Linked DNA regions of Homo sapiens: all the other regions are linked to region 1. Evidence: promoter capture Hi-C in human tissues and cell types (Jung and others, 2019). All regions are on one chromosome and are shown on one strand. Each heading gives the region's core, a stretch centred on a gene start or on the middle of the fragment in contact. The rest is flanking DNA. Distances are from core to core; before and after follow the strand shown.

The links. Contacts are between HindIII fragments. The study calls those that stand out against the background at their distance.
Region 2: a contact is called between a fragment that was not itself captured here and the fragment with the promoter of FOXC1 in region 1, in 1 of the 25 tissues and cell types used here (IMR-90 fibroblasts).
Region 3: a fragment that was not itself captured here is called in contact with the fragment with the promoter of FOXC1 in region 1 in 2 of the 25 tissues and cell types used here (H1 embryonic stem cells and lymphoblastoid cells).
Region 4: a contact is called between a fragment that was not itself captured here and the fragment with the promoter of FOXC1 in region 1, in 1 of the 25 tissues and cell types used here (heart right ventricle).
Region 5: a contact is called between a fragment that was not itself captured here and the fragment with the promoter of FOXC1 in region 1, in 1 of the 25 tissues and cell types used here (aorta).

What each region holds. Positions count from the first base shown.
Region 1 is chr6:1,608,594-1,612,742 of GRCh38, forward strand. It overlaps FOXC1 (forkhead box C1), which reads left to right and starts at 1,322. Exons shown (of 1, transcript NM_001453.3): 1 at 1,322-4,149. The coding sequence starts at 1,853. The coding sequence ends at 3,514. RefSeq lists a silencer at 1,130-1,749 and an enhancer at 2,080-2,179. The HindIII fragment of the contact is 11,200 bases long and covers 1-4,149 here.
Region 2 is chr6:1,978,347-1,982,684 of GRCh38, forward strand. All of the region lies in intron 4 of GMDS (GDP-mannose 4,6-dehydratase), which reads right to left. Among named protein-coding and RNA genes, the nearest start is that of GMDS, 270 kb to the right of the region's middle. The HindIII fragment of the contact is 5,340 bases long and covers 1-4,208 here.
Region 3 is chr6:1,950,243-1,954,353 of GRCh38, forward strand. The region is part of intron 6 of GMDS (GDP-mannose 4,6-dehydratase); the gene reads right to left. Among named protein-coding and RNA genes, the nearest start is that of GMDS, 290 kb to the right of the region's middle. RefSeq lists an enhancer at 2,173-3,372. The HindIII fragment of the contact is 8,040 bases long and covers 1-4,111 here.
Region 4 is chr6:2,009,398-2,013,429 of GRCh38, forward strand. The region is part of intron 4 of GMDS (GDP-mannose 4,6-dehydratase); the gene reads right to left. Among named protein-coding and RNA genes, the nearest start is that of GMDS, 230 kb to the right of the region's middle. The HindIII fragment of the contact is 5,524 bases long and covers 1-4,032 here.
Region 5 is chr6:1,881,425-1,885,323 of GRCh38, forward strand. All of the region lies in intron 7 of GMDS (GDP-mannose 4,6-dehydratase), which reads right to left. Among named protein-coding and RNA genes, the nearest start is that of FOXC1, 270 kb to the left of the region's middle. The HindIII fragment of the contact is 6,892 bases long and covers 1-3,899 here.

The sequences.
Region 1 (4,149 bases), core at 72-2,571:
TAAAATGCAGAATCGCCGTGCCGGGGGAGGGAGGCCTGGCTCTTTCCCGCTCCTTCGTTTCTTTCCCTCATTTCTCTTCTTCCTGTCCCATTCCAACCACCCAGCGACGGCGAATCTCAGGCGTGTGCACAACGAGCGGGGGCCCTTCCGTGCGTGTCCCCCCAGAATCCTTGAACCGCCCTCTAGGTGCGACCCTGGACGTTCCCCCAGACACACCCGTTGTCTCTGCGAGCCGGCAGCCCCGCGCATGTGGAGATGGAGACTGGCCTGGGGAAGCGTTAAGCTCTTAGACATATTTATTTGCTTCTTGTCATCACACCTGCTAATGTCACCGAGCCCGCAGCCTGACCCCTCATCTGAGCCGAAACGGGCCTGACGGGATCAGAGGGGGCGGCGGCGCGGCGAGCCGGTGGGACCCTCGCGGGCGGGCAGGGGAGCGCGGGGCAGCAGCCGGGCTCCGGCAGCCCTCGCCGCCCGCACCCTCAGGCCGCCAAGGGCCGGCCCCCCGGGGAGGGGGGCGAGAAGCAGGGCGGCCCGCAGCGGGGCGGGCTCATCCTTCGCGGGTGAACGGCCGTCGGAAACTCCCAGCAGGGCCCCGCACCCCTTGCCTTCATTTCGGCTGGGGAGGGGTCATGGAGGGGGGCCAGATGGGCGACGAACCTTCTTCCCCACCGCGAGCAGGGCCTGGCTGTGACCGAGCCCTCAAAATCATGTCCTTTGTAGCCGAGTTCAGGACAGGAGAACCTCCAAGTGGAGAAAAGCCGGAGACGTCAGTGACCCGAGTGAGACTGGCGTTGGAGAAGGGAGGGAAGGGGCTGCGGGAGGGGAGAGGCGGCGGGGAGGAGAGGCTGGGGCAACCCCAGCGCTGGCGTCGGCGGGGCTGGCGAAGGAATGAGAGCGAGCCAGCACGAGGCGGGGCGGAGACGCCAGGGCCACTCGGGAGCCGTGGGCGAAGGAAGGGTCTGCACGGGGTCCCGGGAGGACCCAGGAAGTCTGCGCGAACGGCGGGCGTGGGTCCGGAGGGCCCGGGGTGGGAGGTCTGCCGGGCGCCGGCGGCAGGCAGGTGGACTGCGGGGGGCGAACCGACGGCGGGCCGGGCGCCGGCGCGGGCGCAGGGCCGGGGCCCGGGCCAGGGCGGCCGGCGCGCGTGTGGTCAGCCCCGCGGTCCTCCGGCCTCCGGGAGCGGGCCGGCAGGGCTCGGCCTCCGGCTCATTCGGAGGCGGTTCTCACCTCCCATTGGCTGCCGCCGCTGGCGGGGCGGGGCTCCGCTGCCCGGAAAAAAGTGTAACTGCGTAAAAAAGTCCTCGCCTGGGTGACGGATGCTCAAAAGTTCAGAAGTTTTCCCAATGCTTCCTTAAGCGGCTGGCGCGCGAGAGACCGAGAAAAGGTGACGCGGGGCCCGGGCAGGCGGCCGGCGCGCGGCCCCCCCCCCCCCCGCCCTGGTTATTTGGCCGCCTTCGCCGGCAGCTCAGGGCAGAGTCTCCTGGAAGGCGCAGGCAGTGTGGCGAGAAGGGCGCCTGCTTGTTCTTTCTTTTTGTCTGCTTTCCCCCGTTTGCGCCTGGAAGCTGCGCCGCGAGTTCCTGCAAGGCGGTCTGCCGCGGCCGGGCCCGGCCTTCTCCCCTCGCAGCGACCCCGCCTCGCGGCCGCGCGGGCCCCGAGGTAGCCCGAGGCGCCGGAGGAGCCAGCCCCAGCGAGCGCCGGGAGAGGCGGCAGCGCAGCCGGACGCACAGCGCAGCGGGCCGGCACCAGCTCGGCCGGGCCCGGACTCGGACTCGGCGGCCGGCGCGGCGCGGCCCGGCCCGAGCGAGGGTGGGGGGCGGCGGGCGGCGCGGGGCGGCGGCGAGCGGGGGCCATGCAGGCGCGCTACTCCGTGTCCAGCCCCAACTCCCTGGGAGTGGTGCCCTACCTCGGCGGCGAGCAGAGCTACTACCGCGCGGCGGCCGCGGCGGCCGGGGGCGGCTACACCGCCATGCCGGCCCCCATGAGCGTGTACTCGCACCCTGCGCACGCCGAGCAGTACCCGGGCGGCATGGCCCGCGCCTACGGGCCCTACACGCCGCAGCCGCAGCCCAAGGACATGGTGAAGCCGCCCTATAGCTACATCGCGCTCATCACCATGGCCATCCAGAACGCCCCGGACAAGAAGATCACCCTGAACGGCATCTACCAGTTCATCATGGACCGCTTCCCCTTCTACCGGGACAACAAGCAGGGCTGGCAGAACAGCATCCGCCACAACCTCTCGCTCAACGAGTGCTTCGTCAAGGTGCCGCGCGACGACAAGAAGCCGGGCAAGGGCAGCTACTGGACGCTGGACCCGGACTCCTACAACATGTTCGAGAACGGCAGCTTCCTGCGGCGGCGGCGGCGCTTCAAGAAGAAGGACGCGGTGAAGGACAAGGAGGAGAAGGACAGGCTGCACCTCAAGGAGCCGCCCCCGCCCGGCCGCCAGCCCCCGCCCGCGCCGCCGGAGCAGGCCGACGGCAACGCGCCCGGTCCGCAGCCGCCGCCCGTGCGCATCCAGGACATCAAGACCGAGAACGGTACGTGCCCCTCGCCGCCCCAGCCCCTGTCCCCGGCCGCCGCCCTGGGCAGCGGCAGCGCCGCCGCGGTGCCCAAGATCGAGAGCCCCGACAGCAGCAGCAGCAGCCTGTCCAGCGGGAGCAGCCCCCCGGGCAGCCTGCCGTCGGCGCGGCCGCTCAGCCTGGACGGTGCGGATTCCGCGCCGCCGCCGCCCGCGCCCTCCGCCCCGCCGCCGCACCATAGCCAGGGCTTCAGCGTGGACAACATCATGACGTCGCTGCGGGGGTCGCCGCAGAGCGCGGCCGCGGAGCTCAGCTCCGGCCTTCTGGCCTCGGCGGCCGCGTCCTCGCGCGCGGGGATCGCACCCCCGCTGGCGCTCGGCGCCTACTCGCCCGGCCAGAGCTCCCTCTACAGCTCCCCCTGCAGCCAGACCTCCAGCGCGGGCAGCTCGGGCGGCGGCGGCGGCGGCGCGGGGGCCGCGGGGGGCGCGGGCGGCGCCGGGACCTACCACTGCAACCTGCAAGCCATGAGCCTGTACGCGGCCGGCGAGCGCGGGGGCCACTTGCAGGGCGCGCCCGGGGGCGCGGGCGGCTCGGCCGTGGACGACCCCCTGCCCGACTACTCTCTGCCTCCGGTCACCAGCAGCAGCTCGTCGTCCCTGAGTCACGGCGGCGGCGGCGGCGGCGGCGGGGGAGGCCAGGAGGCCGGCCACCACCCTGCGGCCCACCAAGGCCGCCTCACCTCGTGGTACCTGAACCAGGCGGGCGGAGACCTGGGCCACTTGGCGAGCGCGGCGGCGGCGGCGGCGGCCGCAGGCTACCCGGGCCAGCAGCAGAACTTCCACTCGGTGCGGGAGATGTTCGAGTCACAGAGGATCGGCTTGAACAACTCTCCAGTGAACGGGAATAGTAGCTGTCAAATGGCCTTCCCTTCCAGCCAGTCTCTGTACCGCACGTCCGGAGCTTTCGTCTACGACTGTAGCAAGTTTTGACACACCCTCAAAGCCGAACTAAATCGAACCCCAAAGCAGGAAAAGCTAAAGGAACCCATCAAGGCAAAATCGAAACTAAAAAAAAAAAATCCAATTAAAAAAAACCCCTGAGAATATTCACCACACCAGCGAACAGAATATCCCTCCAAAAATTCAGCTCACCAGCACCAGCACGAAGAAAACTCTATTTTCTTAACCGATTAATTCAGAGCCACCTCCACTTTGCCTTGTCTAAATAAACAAACCCGTAAACTGTTTTATACAGAGACAGCAAAATCTTGGTTTATTAAAGGACAGTGTTACTCCAGATAACACGTAAGTTTCTTCTTGCTTTTCAGAGACCTGCTTTCCCCTCCTCCCGTCTCCCCTCTCTTGCCTTCTTCCTTGCCTCTCACCTGTAAGATATTATTTTATCCTATGTTGAAGGGAGGGGGAAAGTCCCCGTTTATGAAAGTCGCTTTCTTTTTATTCATGGACTTGTTTTAAAATGTAAATTGCAACATAGTAATTTATTTTTAATTTGTAGTTGGATGTCGTGGACCAAACGCCAGAAAGTGTTCCCAAAACCTGACGTTAAATTGCCTGAAACTTTAAATTGTGCTTTTTTTCTCATTATAAAAAGGGAAACTGTATTA
Region 2 (4,338 bases), core at 289-2,788, 370 kb after region 1:
GGGATGGAGTGCCTGGAAGAGGAAAGGGCCACCACCTGGGTTGGTTGGATAACTCAGCCATTCCAGCCTGCCAGCTTTGGAGAGTCCTAGCCGACTGAGGCAAAGGGGGTTCCCCACCATGAAGGCTGTTTTGTAGAGGTGTGGCCAGACTGCTTCTTTAAGCAGGACTCCGTTATACTCCTCCTTGTGGGGCGGGTCCTCCCAGCTGGGGCCTCCAGCCACCCCCTCCCACCCCATGTTCTTTGGGGCCTAAAGAGCTCTAATTTCACCCTGGGGCAGAGCGCCTGAGTGGTGGGGCAGGTCATCACCTTGCCTGTTTGGGCTGCCTGTGGGCCATGGAGAGCCCAAACCAATCAGGGGCTGAAGGGATCCCCAACACAGCATAGCTGCTCTACCAAAAAGCAGCCAGATTGTTTTTTTAAGTGGGTCTCTGATCTTGTTCCTCCTGAGTGGGTGTGACTTCCAACCAGGGTCTCCAGCCACCTCCTCCAGGTGCGTTCAGGCCAGCAATAGGTCAGTACCCTTGTGGGATGAAGCTTCCAGAGGAAGGGGCAAGCTGCCATCTTTGCTATATCACAGCCTTCACTGGTGATAGGTACTGGAAAAACTGAGGCAACTAGGGTCTGGAGTGGCCAGACTATTAAAAACAAACAAACATACAAACACAAAACAACAAAAACAAAACCACAAGAACTCCATCCAAAGGTCAGCAACTCATTTGTAAATAAGCCCACAAAGATGAGAAAAAAAATCAACACAAAAACTCTGAAAACTCAATAATCTGGAGTGCCCCTTTTCCTCCAAATGACTGCAGTAACTCCAGCAAGGGCTCAGAACTGGGTTGAGGATGAGATGGCTGAAATAACAGAAGGAGACTTCAGAATGTGGGTAATAATGAACTTTGCTGAGCTAAGGGAGCATGTTGTAACCCAAAGCGAAGAAGCTAAAACAATACATATGGGAGCTGACAGCCAAAATAGCCAGTCTAGAGGAACAGAACCAACCTGATAGAGCTAAGCTAAAAAACATGCTACAAGAACTTTACAATGCAATCACAAATATTAACAGCAGAATAGACCAAGTGGAGAAAAGAATCTTAGAGCTTGAAGACTGTCTTTCTGAAATAAGACAGGCAAAAAAGAATAGAGAAAAAAGAATGAAAAGAAATAAACAAAACCTCTGAGAAATATGGGATTATGTAAAGAGAATGAATCTACAACTGACTGGGATACTTGAACAATATGGGGAGAATGGAACCAAGTTGGAAAATATACTTCAGGTTATCATCTAGGAGAACTTCCTCAGCCTAGCAAGATAGGCCAACATTCAAATTCAGGAAATGCAGAGAATCCCTGTGAAATACTTCATAAGAAGATGATCCCCAAGACACATAATCATCAGATTCTCCAAGGTCGAAATAAAAGAAAAAATGTTGAGGGCAGCCAGAGAGAAAGGCCAGATCACCTACAAAGGGAAGCACGTCAGACTAACAGCAGACCTCTCAGTGGAAACCCTACCAGCTGGAAGAGATTGGTGGCCAATATTCAACATTCTTAAAGAAAAGAATTTCCTATCTAGAATTTCATATCTGTCCAAACTAAGCTTCATAAGTGAAGGAGATTTAAGATCCTTTTCAGACAAACAAATGCTGAGAAAATTGGTCACCACCAGACCTGTCTTGCAAGAGCTCCTGAAGGAAGCACTAAATATGAAAAGGAAAACCTGTTACCAGTCACTACAAAGACATACTGAAGTACACAGACCAGTGACACTATGAAGTAACCACATAAACAAGTCTGCACAATAACCAGCTAGTATCATGACAGGATTTAATCCACACATAACAATACTAACCTTAAATGTAAATGGGCTAAATGCTCCAATTAAAAGACACAGAATGGCAAGCTGGATAAAAAAACAAGACCCATTGGTATGCTGTGTTCAAGAGACTCATCTCACATGCAAGGACACACATAGGCTCAAAATAAAGAAATGAAAGAAAAGTTACCAAGCAAATGGAAAACAGAAAAAAGCAGGGGTTGCAATCCTAGTTTCTGACAAAACAGACTTTAAACCAACAAAGATTAAAAAAAAAAAAGACAAAGAAGGGCATACATAATGGTAAAGGGCTCAATTCAACAAGAAGAGCTAACTGTCTTACATATACAAACACTCAATAAAAAAGCACTGCCAAGTTCATAAAGCAAGTTCTTAGAGACCTTCAAAAAAAGACTTAGACTCCCAACAATAATAGTGGGAGACTTTAACACTCCACTGATAATATTAGACAGATCATCAAAACAGAAAATTAACCAAGATATTTTGGACCTGAACTCAGCTCTGGATCAAGAGGATCTGATAGATATTTACAGAACTGTCCACCCAGAAACATTCTTCTCATAGCCACGTGAGACTTACTCTAAAATTAATCACATAATCAGAGGAAAAACACTCCTCAGGAAATGTAAAAGAACTGAAATCATAACAGTTTCTCAGACTACAGCCCAATCAAATTAGAACTCAAGACTAATAAACTCACTCAAAACTACACAACTATTAATACATGGAAATTGAACACCTGCTCCTTAATGACTCTTGGATAAATAATGAAATGAAGACAGAAATCAAGAAGTTCTTTGAAACTAATCAGAACAAAGAGACAACATACCACAATCTCTGGGACACGGCTAAAGCTGTGTTAAAAGAAAAATTCATAGCACTAAATGCCCACATCAAAAAGCTAGAAAGATCTCAAATTAACAACCTAACATCAGAATTAATAGAACTAGAGAACCAAGAGCAAACAAACCCCAAAGCTAGCAGAAGACAAGAAATAACCAAGATCAGAGCTGAACTAAAGAAGACAGAGACATGAAAAAACCTGCAAAAAAAAAAAATTCAGGCTGGTTTTTGGAAAAAAATTAATAAAATAGACTGCTAGCTAGACTAATCAAGAAGAAAAGAGAGAAGATTCAAATAAACACAATCAGAAATGATAAGGGGGATATCACCACTGTTCCCACAGAAATACAAGCAACCATCAAAGAATACTACAAACACCTATAAGCACATAAACTAGAAAATCTACAAGAAATGGATAAATTCCTGGACACATACACTCTCCCAAGACTGAACCAGGAAGCAACTGAATCCCTGAATAGACCAATAATGAGTCTGAAATTGAGGAGGTCAAACCAAAGAAAGCCCAGGACCAGATAGATTCACAGTTGAATTCTACCAGAGGTACAAAGAGGAGCTGGTACCATTTTTACTGAAACTATTCCAAAAAATTGAGGATGAGGGACTCCTTCCTAACTCATTCTATGAAACCAGCATCATGCTGACACCAAAACCTAGCAGAGGTACAACAAAAAAAAGAAAAACTTCAGGCCAATATCCTTGATGAACATCAGTGCAAAAATCCTCAACCAAATACTGGCAAACCGAATCTGGCAGCACATCAGAAAGTTTATCCACTACAATCAAGTTGGCTTCATGCCCAGGATGCAAGGTTGGTTTAACATACACAAATCAATAAATGTGATTCATCACATAAACAGAACTAAAGACACAAAACACATGATTATCTCAATAGATGAGAAAAGGCCTTCCATAAAATTCAACATCCCCTCATGTAAAAACTCTCAGTAAACTAGGTATTAACAGAAAATACTTTGGCCAGGTGCGGTGGCTCACACCTGTAATCCAGGCACTTTGGGAGGCTGAGGCGGGTGGATCACCTGAGGTCAGGAGTCCCAAGACCAGCCTGGCTGACATGGTGAAACCCCATCTCTACTAAAAATACAAAAATTAGCCAGGCGTGGTGGTAGGTGTCTGTAATCCTAGCTACTTGGTAGGCTGAGGCAGGAGAATCACTTGAATCTGGGAGGCAGAGGTTGCAGTGAATATGATAAACTCACAGCCATTATCATACTGAATGAGCAAAAGCTGGAAGCATTCCCCTTGAAAACCAGCACAAGACAAGGATGCCCTCTCTCACCACTCCTATTCAACATATATTGGAAGTTCTGGCCAGGACAATCAGGCAAGGGAAAGAAATATAAGGTATTCAAACAGGAAGAGATGAAATCAAACTATCTTTGTTTGCAGATGACATGATCCTGTATCTAGAAAACCCCATTGTCTCAGCCCAAAAACTTCTGAAGTTGATAAGCAACTTTGGCCAAGTCTCAGGATCACTGTGCAAAAACTACTAGCATTCCTGTACACCAACCACACGCAGGCTGAGAGCAAAATCATGAATGAACTCCCATTCACAATTGCCACAAAAAAAATAAAATACCCAGGAATACAGCTAACAAGGGAAGTAAAGGACCC
Region 3 (4,111 bases), core at 11-2,510, 340 kb after region 1:
GTGAACCCTTCACACTAATATTAGTATAATCCTATGCATTGAAAGATAATCTTGAATCAGTTCTAACTGTTGTTTTATATCAAAGCCAGATCATGGACTCTACAACTTATTCTCAAATGAAAAATGTGTTATTCTTATAACTAATAACAAAAAGTAAACATGTTCATTGATTTTGGAGGCTTGGGAGGGTCCCAAACCCATCTTGACTTGGCTCGTGAATCAGTGGGTCACTGAGGTGAGGGTTCAGCCTCCAATGATTAGAAGAGTCCTGGGTTTGAGTTGGGTCTGACCTGCAGCAGACCATAATACTTAAGGCCCTGGAGCTATTTGAATCCGAATGTTTTCTTTGGTGTTCACGTAAATGTTTGCTAAAGTTCTATGAAGAATTTACTGTAAAGTGAAAGTGATACCTAAAGAAAAATGAGACCCTACTGTTGTTCTATGAAGAATTTACTGTAAAGTAAAACTGAAGTGTAACGAAAAATGAGATGGCATTCATCTCATCTGTTACAGGTGGCATTCACACAGATTCTGCAAGCACATTTGGAAGGATGACATCCTAGGGCAGAGTTTCTTATCCTCACCACCATGAACCATCTGGACAGGACAGGCGTTTGTTATAGAGCCATCCCGTGCACACCACTATGAACCATCTGGACAGGACAGGCGTTTGTTATAGAGCCATCCCGTGCACTGTAGGATGTTCAGCAGCATCCCTGGCCTCTACCTACCAGACACCAATAGTAGCCCCCTCCTCCGTTGGGACAAGAAAAATATCTCCAGACACTGCCAGACGTCCTCTGGAGGAAAGAGCCACTCTCTCCCCATTCCCCACCCCTAGTTGAGAACCACTATTCTAGAGCATTAATCTTATCTTTACAGCAACAAATAAAGACAATCTTTAAAAAACAAATCAAAAGGAAAATTACCCCAAATTTTACTTAAATTTTGACAAGTAATTTTTACATGAATTATTTTAAAAATTCTGAAGATTAATTTATAAAGATAAATACAGTCAGACATTTTATAAAGCAAAGTACTTGGCAGCTAAAAAAATGCTCAAGACGAAAACTCAAAACCACAAGTTCATGAACCTTAAAAATGCCAGATTCTTTCAGTCAGGTGAATACTGTGTTTAGACTGATGTATATGATTTCTTATGAAGCCCATATTTAAAGGAATGTCCTATCTCATCTAGAAATGGCTCAGTATCTAAACAGTGCTAGTACACCATCCATTTGTGGCAATCTCACACGGTTAATTATGGGTATATTTAAAGTACTTTATAGCTTCCCATTGCCACATGATTTTTAATGTTTTATTTTTTATTTTGTGGTAGGGATGAGGTTTCACTATATTGCTCAGGCTGGTCTACAACTCCTGGCCTCAAGTTATCCTCCTGTCTTAGCCTCCCAAAGTGCTGGAATTACAAGCATGACCACCATGCCCGGCCTGATTTTTAATGTCTTTTATATTAGTTCTTCCTATTACCAACTTCTTGATAACAGGCAAGAGAAGTTATTTATTTCATATCACATTTATATTCTAATATTATAAAACTATGTTTATTGTAATTATTTCTGTCAAACATCTTAAAGGAATATTGCCTTTAAGCAAACTAATGGTCTTTTACAAAGATAAGAGCAGCTGAGACATTCCGTTTCCAACTTGTCCACTTGCTTCACTGCCAAGCTGAGGTGGCCCACTCAGTGTCACAGGGGTTTCTTTGCTCAAGTTCAACTCTAAAATTCGTATATATGTTATTTCCACAAATATGTACAATATTTACATGACTTCTCCTAGGATTATTTCTGGTCTCCGTGTTAGCATTTATTGGCTTCACGACCTTGGACAACTCAATCTCATGCTGCTTCTGTTTCCTCATTGCTGAAAAAAGGGAGATGAAAGAAGCTTTAAATTCCTATTTCACAAATTCTGAGGGTATTTTGGGAGAATACCTACAGGTGGATGTTAACTGGCTGCTCCCTAGAAGCTCTTTCAAGGAAAAAATAGTATCTAATGGCTTAATACACATTTTTAAAATTAAAAAATAGAGAAAAATAGAAGTACACATGAATTTCATTTCCACATACAGATAAAAAATTTGTAAGTTAAACAAGTTAGTCAAAATGTCTCTGAAAGTACCTGTGGAGTATTAAATCACTATGTCAAACGCAACACGAAGAGCTAATGAGCGTGCATTTTTCACAGTAAGGATGATGATGATGATGATAGCCAAACCCCTCTGATTCCTCAGCTGGGAGATGATTAAAAAAAGTTCTTCGTGACTCAGAATGAAATACAAAATAAACCAGCTTTCTGGAAGTATTTACTAGGATCTCATGAAATTCTGAACAGACAGTTTAGCAACGGAAGCGCTCCTGGGGGAAGAAGGTAGTGATGGATCTGTTGCAAGGCCCCATGGTCAGAGACAGAGGAGCAAAGTTACATATGGCAAGTAGAAGAGAGGCTCAGTTAGGCGTTAGGCAAATATGGAAAGGAAGAGAAAAGAAGATCCACAGGGAGAGAGAATGCTTTACCCAGACTGAGTAAATGTCCCATTCTTAAACACTGAGAGAAGAAAGAGTGGGAGGAGAATGGAAGAAATACGCTGTCAACAGGGAACGTGATTTCTTACTCAGGCTAAAGGTATCCAGGGATGAAGCCAATCCCTATGAGTGACTCACGGCTGGTAACCAACGGCCCACGAGGTAGGCTCATGTAACCAAACATCACCTCCTCAGTCAGTCCTGGAAGTAGAGGTTACTACATTGCCCAAACTTTCCTAATGATCGAAAGACTAAAATGAGTCAACATAAGAAAAATATCCTCATCGAAAGACGGAAATCTTCAACTGATCTCCTGCGGAAAGCAAAGGGCTGCTGGGTATGAGAGGCAGGCCTGCCAACAGCCGGCAGCACAGAACAACTTTCTCCGTCACACCCCTGGGTCAGGGCTTTCTCCTCCAGGACGTGGACCCTAGGAAGTCTCACAGAAACCGAGGCTGCTGTTCTTAGTGTAGGAAATCAAAGCGGCTAATTCTACACTCATACTGAAAACTGAAAAATCACATTTAAAAAAAAAGAATGCTGAATATTATGTGTGTTTCACCCTTTATTCACAATAGCTACTGTCATCAAAATTAGGAAATCAGGGATAATCTAATCATTAAATTTTTTAACCTTCCAAAAGTAGAAGGTAGAATGTATTTTTTGTTCCCTCTTAATTATCATGCAAAATGTTTTTTCTTAATTTAGAATACACTCATATTAGTGTTATTTATAGTTTTGTAAAGGTCACCATATTTGTATTTATGGCATGCCAAAGTACTCTGCCAATGTTAAGAATTAAGACATAATTAGCCCCAACTGGTTACATTACATATGTGATGAACAGTAGTTATTCTTCTTATTTACCTCCTAATGTAATAAACAGTCAAAACTAGAAATATTGTTAGCTTTACTAAATAGGCTTGCTTCCCATGTTCCAATTTATAGCATAATCTTTAAGAGTAGATTTTATTACTGGTAAATAACATATTTGAAAAGAAACTAATATACTTATTTATGAACTATTTTTAAATAATTAAAAAAACCTCTCAATATTTTCCCCATAGTTCACAACTTATATAATAATTAATATCTTTATGACAAGTCTGATTGTTTAGTTTTTCAAAGAAATGTAATAAGGCAAGAAAATTTTTGTACATGTCTATTTCCTCATAGATATTAAACAGTTTGAGATAATAAACAAAACCTTTTTCCCTAGAGAGTCTATTCTCTATTACAGATAATGTGAAGCTGTATTTCCAGTAGAAAGCTATCATTATATCCACATTTGTGGCAAAAAGAATACTGTATGTATGTAAATATAAAAATAAAGATATGTAATGGAACAGCCAGGGAGATACACAATTTCAGGTTTGAAGAAACAATACAAAAGGAAAAAGCAGTTTATTAAGTGTGTAATAATAGTATGTTTTTAAAAGCCCTGTACAACCTTAACTAAAAATTACTTTATCACTGAAAACCGTTAATGACCATCTGTGCCTTTTGCTGGTAGAGGGCTTGCCTCAGTGTCGATGGCTGCTAACTGATCAGGATGGTGGTTG
Region 4 (4,032 bases), core at 270-2,769, 400 kb after region 1:
GCCAGATTCAGGAACCAATGGTTTAGTAAACTACACCTCAGAGATCTTAGGTCCTGTAATTGCTGTCAAAAGCAGACTAGAATCCAAGATTCCCAGCTGGGAACTTTTCACAATGCCACAAAGATATGCTTTTTAAAAGGCAGGAGGGTCTCTTTCACAAATATGTTAGATCTGAGCACAGAAAACCATTCAATCCTTGGTTCGTTTAAAGCAGCACAGATAAGTCTAAGCAAGGAATAAATCAAGCAGCAAAGATTTAATGTGAACCCAAAACATCAGGAACAAAGGAGATGAAAACTGGTAAAGATACTAAAAAATGGAAAGGGAAAATGATTATTATTACAGAATGTGATAAAAGCTGCCAATGTCAATGACAAATAGGATCTTCATCTCTATCAGCAGAATTCTACAAAGTATCAAAAAACACGTTACTGTACTCTCCAAAACAGATTGCTTATATTTATTTTGAACATAGCCTCAATGACCAGTTGGAAAAAGTGGTCTAACATGCTATTGAAATACAAGAAAAATACTTGAAGATATAATGGCTGAAAACTGTCATAAATTGATAAAGACTGTAATCCTTCTGATCCAAGAAACCCAACGAACCCTGAGCAGGATAAACACAAGAAAAACACACAGCACATCAGGCTGGGCACGGTGGCTCACACCTGTAATCCCAGCACTTTGGGAGGCCGAGGTGGGTGGATCACAACATCAGGAGTTCAAGGCCAGCCTGGCCAACATGGTGAAACCCCGTCTCCACTAAAAATACAAAAATTAGCCAGGTGTGGTGGTGGTCACCTGTAGTCCCAGCTACTCGGGAGGATGAGGCAAGAGAATCGCTTGAACCCGAGAGGCAGAGGTTGCAGGGAGCCGAGATCGTGCCATTGCACTCCAGCCTGGGTGACATAGCAAGACTCCATCTCAAAAAAAAAAAAAAGAAAGAAAGAAAAAAAAAAACACATAGCACATCAAAATCAAATTACCCTAAGCTAGTGATATAGCAAAAATGTTGCAAACAGAGTGAAAAAGACCCATAGAGAAATGAACACAAGGATGATGAGATTACTTGTCAAAATGTTAAACAGAATCTAATCTAAAAAGAGTTTTAAAGTGCTAAAAGTCACTAGCATTCTATATCTATGAAAATAACACTCAATAAGGTAAAATGAAGATGTTGGCTGACACAAACAAGAGCTGAAAAAATTCACTGAGAGCAAACAGAAACTACATGAAATGTAAATCAGACTAAACAAAAACTATACCAAATAAAAACTTCCATCTATGTAAAGAAATGAAGAACATCAGAAGTGATAAAGATGTGGGTAAATAAGCCTTTTATTCATTTAAAAATTGTTTTAAAAATTGTTTAAAGTCAAAATAATAAAAATATATTGCAGGGTTAAAAACATGGGGAAATAAAATCTATGAAAACAATAGAACAAAGACCAAATGAGGAAATGGAAGTATATTATTGTCAACCTCTTACATTATATGGGAAGTGATATAATACTGTCTACAAATAGAGAGAGATAAGATACAGGTGCTTATTACAAAATCTAGAGAAATTATTTTTTAAAAAATCAAACAGGTATAAACAAATAAGATAAAGATTTAAAAGAATGCTTTAAAAATACCAAATTCAACCCAAATAAGGCAAGAAAAGACGGGGGAAAGGATCCAAGAACAAATGTGACAAATAAAAACCAAAACATTAAAAGGGCTTAACTCAGCAAAGGACATGAACAGATATTTTTCAAAAGAAGACATACAAATGGCCAAAAAGCATAAGAAAAAATGATCACAACATCTCTAATCAGGGAAATGCAAATTAAAACCACAATGAAGTATCATCTTACAACAGTCCAAATGACTATTACTAAAAAGTCTAAAAATAGAAGATGTTGGTGAGGATGCAAAGAGAAGGAAACACATACGCTGTTGGTGGGAATGTAAATTAATACAACTTATATGAAAAACAGTATAGAGATTTCTCAAAGAACTGAAAATAGAACTATCATTCGATCTAGCAATCCCACTACTTGGTATCTATCCAGAGGAAAAGAAACAATTATATAAAAAAGATACCTCCAATTATATGTTTATCACGGAACTATTCACAATAGTAAAGATGTGGAAACAACATACATGTCCATCATTGGAAGACTGGATTAAAAATGTGGCATATATACCATGGAATACTACTCAGTCATAAAAAAGAACAAAATCAGGGCCGGGTACGGTGACTCATGCCTGTAATCCCAACACTTTGAAAGGCTGAGGTGGAAGGATTTGCCTGAGGCAAGGAGTTCGTGACCATCCTGGGCAACATAATGACACTCAGTCTCTAGAAAAAAATTAAAAATTAAAAATTAGCTAAGCGTGGTCGCGCATTACCTATAGTCCTGGCTACGTGGGAGGCTGAGATGGGAAAACCCCTGAGCCTAGAACTTGAGGCTGCAATCAGCTATGATTATGCCATTGCATTCTTGTCTACAGCAAGACTCTGTCTTCAAAAATAAAAAGTAAAATAAAACAAGAACAAAATCATGTCTTTTCTAGCAATGTGTATGAAACAAGAGGCCATTATCTTAAGTGAAATAGCTCAGAAACAGAAAGTCAAATACTGTATATCCTCACTTATAAATGGGAGTTAAATAATGTGTACACATGGACATAGAGAGTGGAATAAAAGATATCACAGACTTGGAAGGGCAGGAGGGGGGTGAGGGATGAGAAATTACGTGGTGGGTATAATGTACTCTATTTGGGTGATGATTACACTAAAAACCCAGATTTCGCCACCACACAATATATCCACGGATCCAAACCGCACTCACACCCCCTAAATTTATAGAAATACAAATGAAATAAAATTAAAAGACTGTAATCTAATTAGATGAATAATTACATTAAGTGAAATGGTCTGAATATTCTAATTAATAGAGATTTTCACACTAGATAAAATTGTTGTAAGACTCAATAATATGTTTTTTATGTGAAATATAAGTATGAAGACAGATTGGTTAAAAGGACGGACAGTTTTATCATGCAAACACTAATGAAAAGAAAGCTGGGTGGTTTCAGCTACAAAATATAAAGAAATTGGGTTTACCACTAGTCCTCACAACAAGAAAAATGCTGAGGAAATGGAAAACCGATGACTTTTCTTAGGTCCATGTGAGAATTTAGGTCACAGGGCAAACAACCACATTAAAATTATTCTTTTTTATTTTTTTTCTGGAGAGACAGGTGAATATAGAGAATGGCGGTTGAGATTGGCTTATCTGAAGGAGAAACCGCCAGGAAAATCAAAATGGTAACTTCAGTGAATTCCTGCAGAATGAATATGCACTAGCTTGGGAGTTAAAAAAAGTCCCAGGAGCCCCAACTTAGAGGAGTCCCCACACTTTTAAGAATTTTACCTTCAAGAGCTCCAAGACAGTCTTTACGGTGAACATCAGAGAAAACCCCCTCCTGTTGCAGTAACAGTTTTGAAATACACCAAGGGTGTTCTGGTCTCCCTAACAAAAACTTGCCTTCTCAGGGAAAATGCTTCGACAAAGTCTTCTCTGACCTAGGGGAAAAGCAGACACTCAACTCTGGCCGCATCTATCTGTCCTGTCTCCTTTGAAAGAGAAAGAAAAAAAACTGCTAAGAAACAATTCTGGCCACAGGCCAGAAATTCAGCCTCATTTTAAAAATAGGACCTTACCAACATTCATCAACAGGGCTTCCATATAGTAAGAGTGGATTACAACTGAGAGAGCAGTAAGCCACAGACTCTATTTAGGAAATAGTTCTCAAGGTATCCTAGACAAGAGAGTGAAGAAACAACATCACAAGTCAACTATGGAAAACTAAAACCTGTGGCACTTACAGCTATAGCAAATACTAAACAAAACCCAGCTCATTGTCAGATTAACATAAAACCTCACACTAAAAGCTTACTATCTCAGTTCCTATTACTTGACAAGTCAAGTCCAGCTTTCAACAAAAAAAATGACAAGGTCATGACAAAAGAAAAAC
Region 5 (3,899 bases), core at 1,146-3,645, 270 kb after region 1:
AGATGACTTACTTTCTAGGAAAAAAGGAGCTGAATATAGGTTTAAGGATTTTGAACTGCCTAAAGCATGTCACCATAAATCTGTCATGCAGCCTTGTAAGAGCATTACTGATGTAGTCAAAATAAGTGAATCTGAAGAAATAATGTGTTCTATTTTAAACTGCAAAGATGTGGTTAAAGTACAAGGCAGGTATACGAGGCAAATCAATCCACACACAAAAAAATGTTCTGTTTTCAGCAAACTTCTCATCTCTCATTCCAGTTTTTCAATGGGACTCCTCTAATTCTCATCCCAGAAATCCAACTGAGTTGACTGGAAATAACAAGATTCGGATTACTCAAATGACCAAGAGCATCTACTTTCCTGCAAGATGCACAGCAGGATGAAGCAAAAGACATCACTCAAGATCTGGCAAGATGACCAACAGTCAGCGAGAGATCTGGTAAGAATTACCATTAGAAGGAGGCAGACAAAACCTTCCAGAACCACAGACAGCAGTAAGATTCAAAGTCTCACAAGCTACAGTAAAACTCACAGAGTTTTTCCAAGACAAGGTCCTATGTCACCAATTCTTGGTCCACAAAAGATAATCTAAGTGATTATTTTTAAATACACATGTAAGTAGGTTTATTTCTGGTGAGTATTTTATTTTTAGAACTTCTTTTCTAAATCAATGAAGGAAGGCATGGGCTTAAAAAACATGGTGTGGTATTTTCAAACTGGAACATACAGTTTATGCTGTCTAAATTAAGCATATTTAGCAGGCATCTGGGGTCTGAGAATTCTTCATAGCCCTTGGTCCCTCAGAGCTGGAGGCAGAGAAAACTGACATACAATACTCTCAGTGTACTGCACCAAAGAGCTATTTAATTGGCTTTTTAAAATGGATATATAATATTGCTTAGAAATGCAAATATTGGTTAAAATTCCCAGTTTAGTTGAGCATGCACAAGGATATATGCGTGTGTGTACATAAGTACAACTGTATACACTCAAATATGAATAAATGGCTAGAATGAAATAAACCAAAGTGTAATGAGAGGTGCTCTTAGAATAGTATGACAAGTTAATTACAAGATTCCATATTTTGCAATTAGAATAATCATGACACAGAATCAATTAAACAGAAGAGAGAGAAATAATTAACGAAGGACTTTGCATAGGGAGTTAAGAAAGAAAAAAGAAAAAAATCCAATCTTAAGAACTCAACGTCATAAGCAGTGTCTAGCAGAGGGTCAGTGAGCAAAAGGATCCAAACACAATTATTACTGCTGATTATCTAATAAGCACTAATGTGGCCACAGACAGGATATTTAAATTCCACATCATATTGTCTTGAAGTCATTATCTAATGGATTTATAAGGATAAGGCAACATGACATAATAGAAAACTCATGGGTTATCCAAGTTCAGAATTCCCCGGTCTTTATAACTTTTAGGCTTAGCTCCAGGTTTTTCCTTTGGTAAAACAGAACAAATCTCTATCACGAGTGATTGTTGTGAGGATTAGAAGAAACTGTGTATGTAATCTAGCTTGGTTCCTCATAGGAACTCATATCATGGTAGGTATGCTGGCAGTACTAGCATGAGCCATTTCCTAGAGAAAAGGATTACTCTTTTTGCATATGTACAATTTGTGGCATTAAAAACAAATATATAAGTAGGACTTTGATTTCTTTAAAAATATAATTTTATGGGCCGGGTGCGGTGGCAATCCCAGCACTTTGGGAGGCTGAGGCAGAAGAATCACGAGGTCAAGAGATCCAGACCATCCTGGCCAACTTAGTGAAACCCCATCTCTACTAAAAATACAAAAATTAGCTGGGTGTGGTGAGGCACGCCTACAATCCCAGCTACTCGGGAGGCTGAGGCAGGAGAATTGCTTAACCCTAGGAGGCGGAGGCTGCAGTGAGCCAAGATCGTGCCACTGCACTCCAGCCTAATGACAAAGCGAGACTCCATCTCAAAAAAAATAAAATAAAATGATAATAATAATTTTATGGAAATCACAATTGTCCATTTATCTTTTTTATACATTGATTAATGGATTTTTAAAAATTAAACAAATTAAATACCTTAAAGACAATTTGAATAAAAAGAACCTTCCACATATATTATAAAATCATAGATTTTAAAAGCTAGAAATACTCTCAGATACATGAGCTCACTCTAAAACCCTGTTTTGCTGAAAAAAATCTAGGTAAGTCTAATTTTCACACACATACATATTTAAGGAGCAGACACAGCACTACAAGTCAGCTCCCCTCGTACTGAAAGACATTTCCTCCTACTTAAAAATGTACAAATTATTTTGTGTGCTGAGCCAAGCAATGAAAAAGCTTCACCATTAAAACATGAATATTTAAATTTTAACATTTAAATATATCTAAAAGGAATTTTGACCCCATATACTTTGTTTCAGTATTAACCAAATAAAGGGCATAAACTCAAACACATTATTACACATTTATTTAATCAAAACTAGGCATTTCCCAATCATTACAAAATTTATTACCTAGTTTTAATCCCAGTTCATTTAGAATAGATGGACAGAACATGGCCATCTATATAATATTTATTATACAATTTTTAACTAGTAAAGATTTTGATTTAATGTAATTACAATCAGAGCGAGAGCCTCAATGTAAGGAAAAGGAGCCACAATTAAACCACATATAGGAACCTGAAATAGTCATTTCCTTTCTCCCCATATATCTTACTTTTCTACCAAATGGTCCCAAGTACCCAATCAAATATCTATGTGAAAAGCAGATCAATACAACCATTCATTAAACTTATACAGTTGAGAACTTCCCTTGGGAGAATTATCCAAAGACCAAAACACTGCCAACAAAGGAAAATATGATATAAGAGGGCAATTTATATTTAACTCAAATGATCACACTTAATAAAAAGCACAAATCCCAGAGTTCTAAGGGGAGGAAATGATGTAGCGTTAACCAGGGAAAGTCTACAAATAGGACTGGTGGTCAGCTATGTCTTCACCAAAGTGGCATTTTTGCCAACAAGACTCTTGGCAGCCCTTAAGGGGCTAAGCTAGCACAATTGACCAAATATGGTGGGGAATGTGAAAACTTCGCAGATATTAGCATTTATTTTTGAGGCTAACATAACACAGTCCACAGGCCTGCCATCAGAGCCTGCAGCCATTAAGTGATAACTGAAGCAGTGGAATGCAAATAATCCATTGGTTCACATTAGTGTCATGCTCATTTGTAAATGTTCCCAGTCCTCTTCTGGCCCTTAGGGTACCTCACTTGCATTTTAGGGGCAAAACCCATGGGCAGTATATTTAAAAAGGAGTTAAATTATGAGCACACCAGTTAGCAATGATTTACTCATTAAAAAGTGCATTAGGCTACGGTGCCCTGAGCTGCGCGACCTCATAGCTGATCACTTCTAAAATGCTTGAATAGACATTATTTATCTACTGGCAGTGGCCCAAGATTTATCTATTTCAGTCACAAAGTTCTATCATTTATCTATACGCTCCCTAACTCAATGTTAAATTTTGAAATGGTGATTTAACTATAGGAGGAAACTACATTGAAATGAGTGAAAAATGAATGTAGCACTCTGATAAAACAGGAGATATTTAAGCAATCTGGCACCTCTCCTCTGAGATGTTAAAAGGATGTTTTAAGTAATTTATGAATTTAAGGGGATAAAGCCCTCGTTATGGAGAAACAAGGTCAGAAGTCTCAGAGCACTTGACCCAGAGATGCCATTTTGGACTCCTGATTCTGGAAAAGAGTAAAACTCTGTAATTTATTAGAAAAGCCTGCATGGAAATTAATTTACAGCCTAGTTATCTCCATGTTACAGAGATAAATATAATTATTTCTCATTTTGAAGTTGAAAAAGAAAAGCTATCTTAG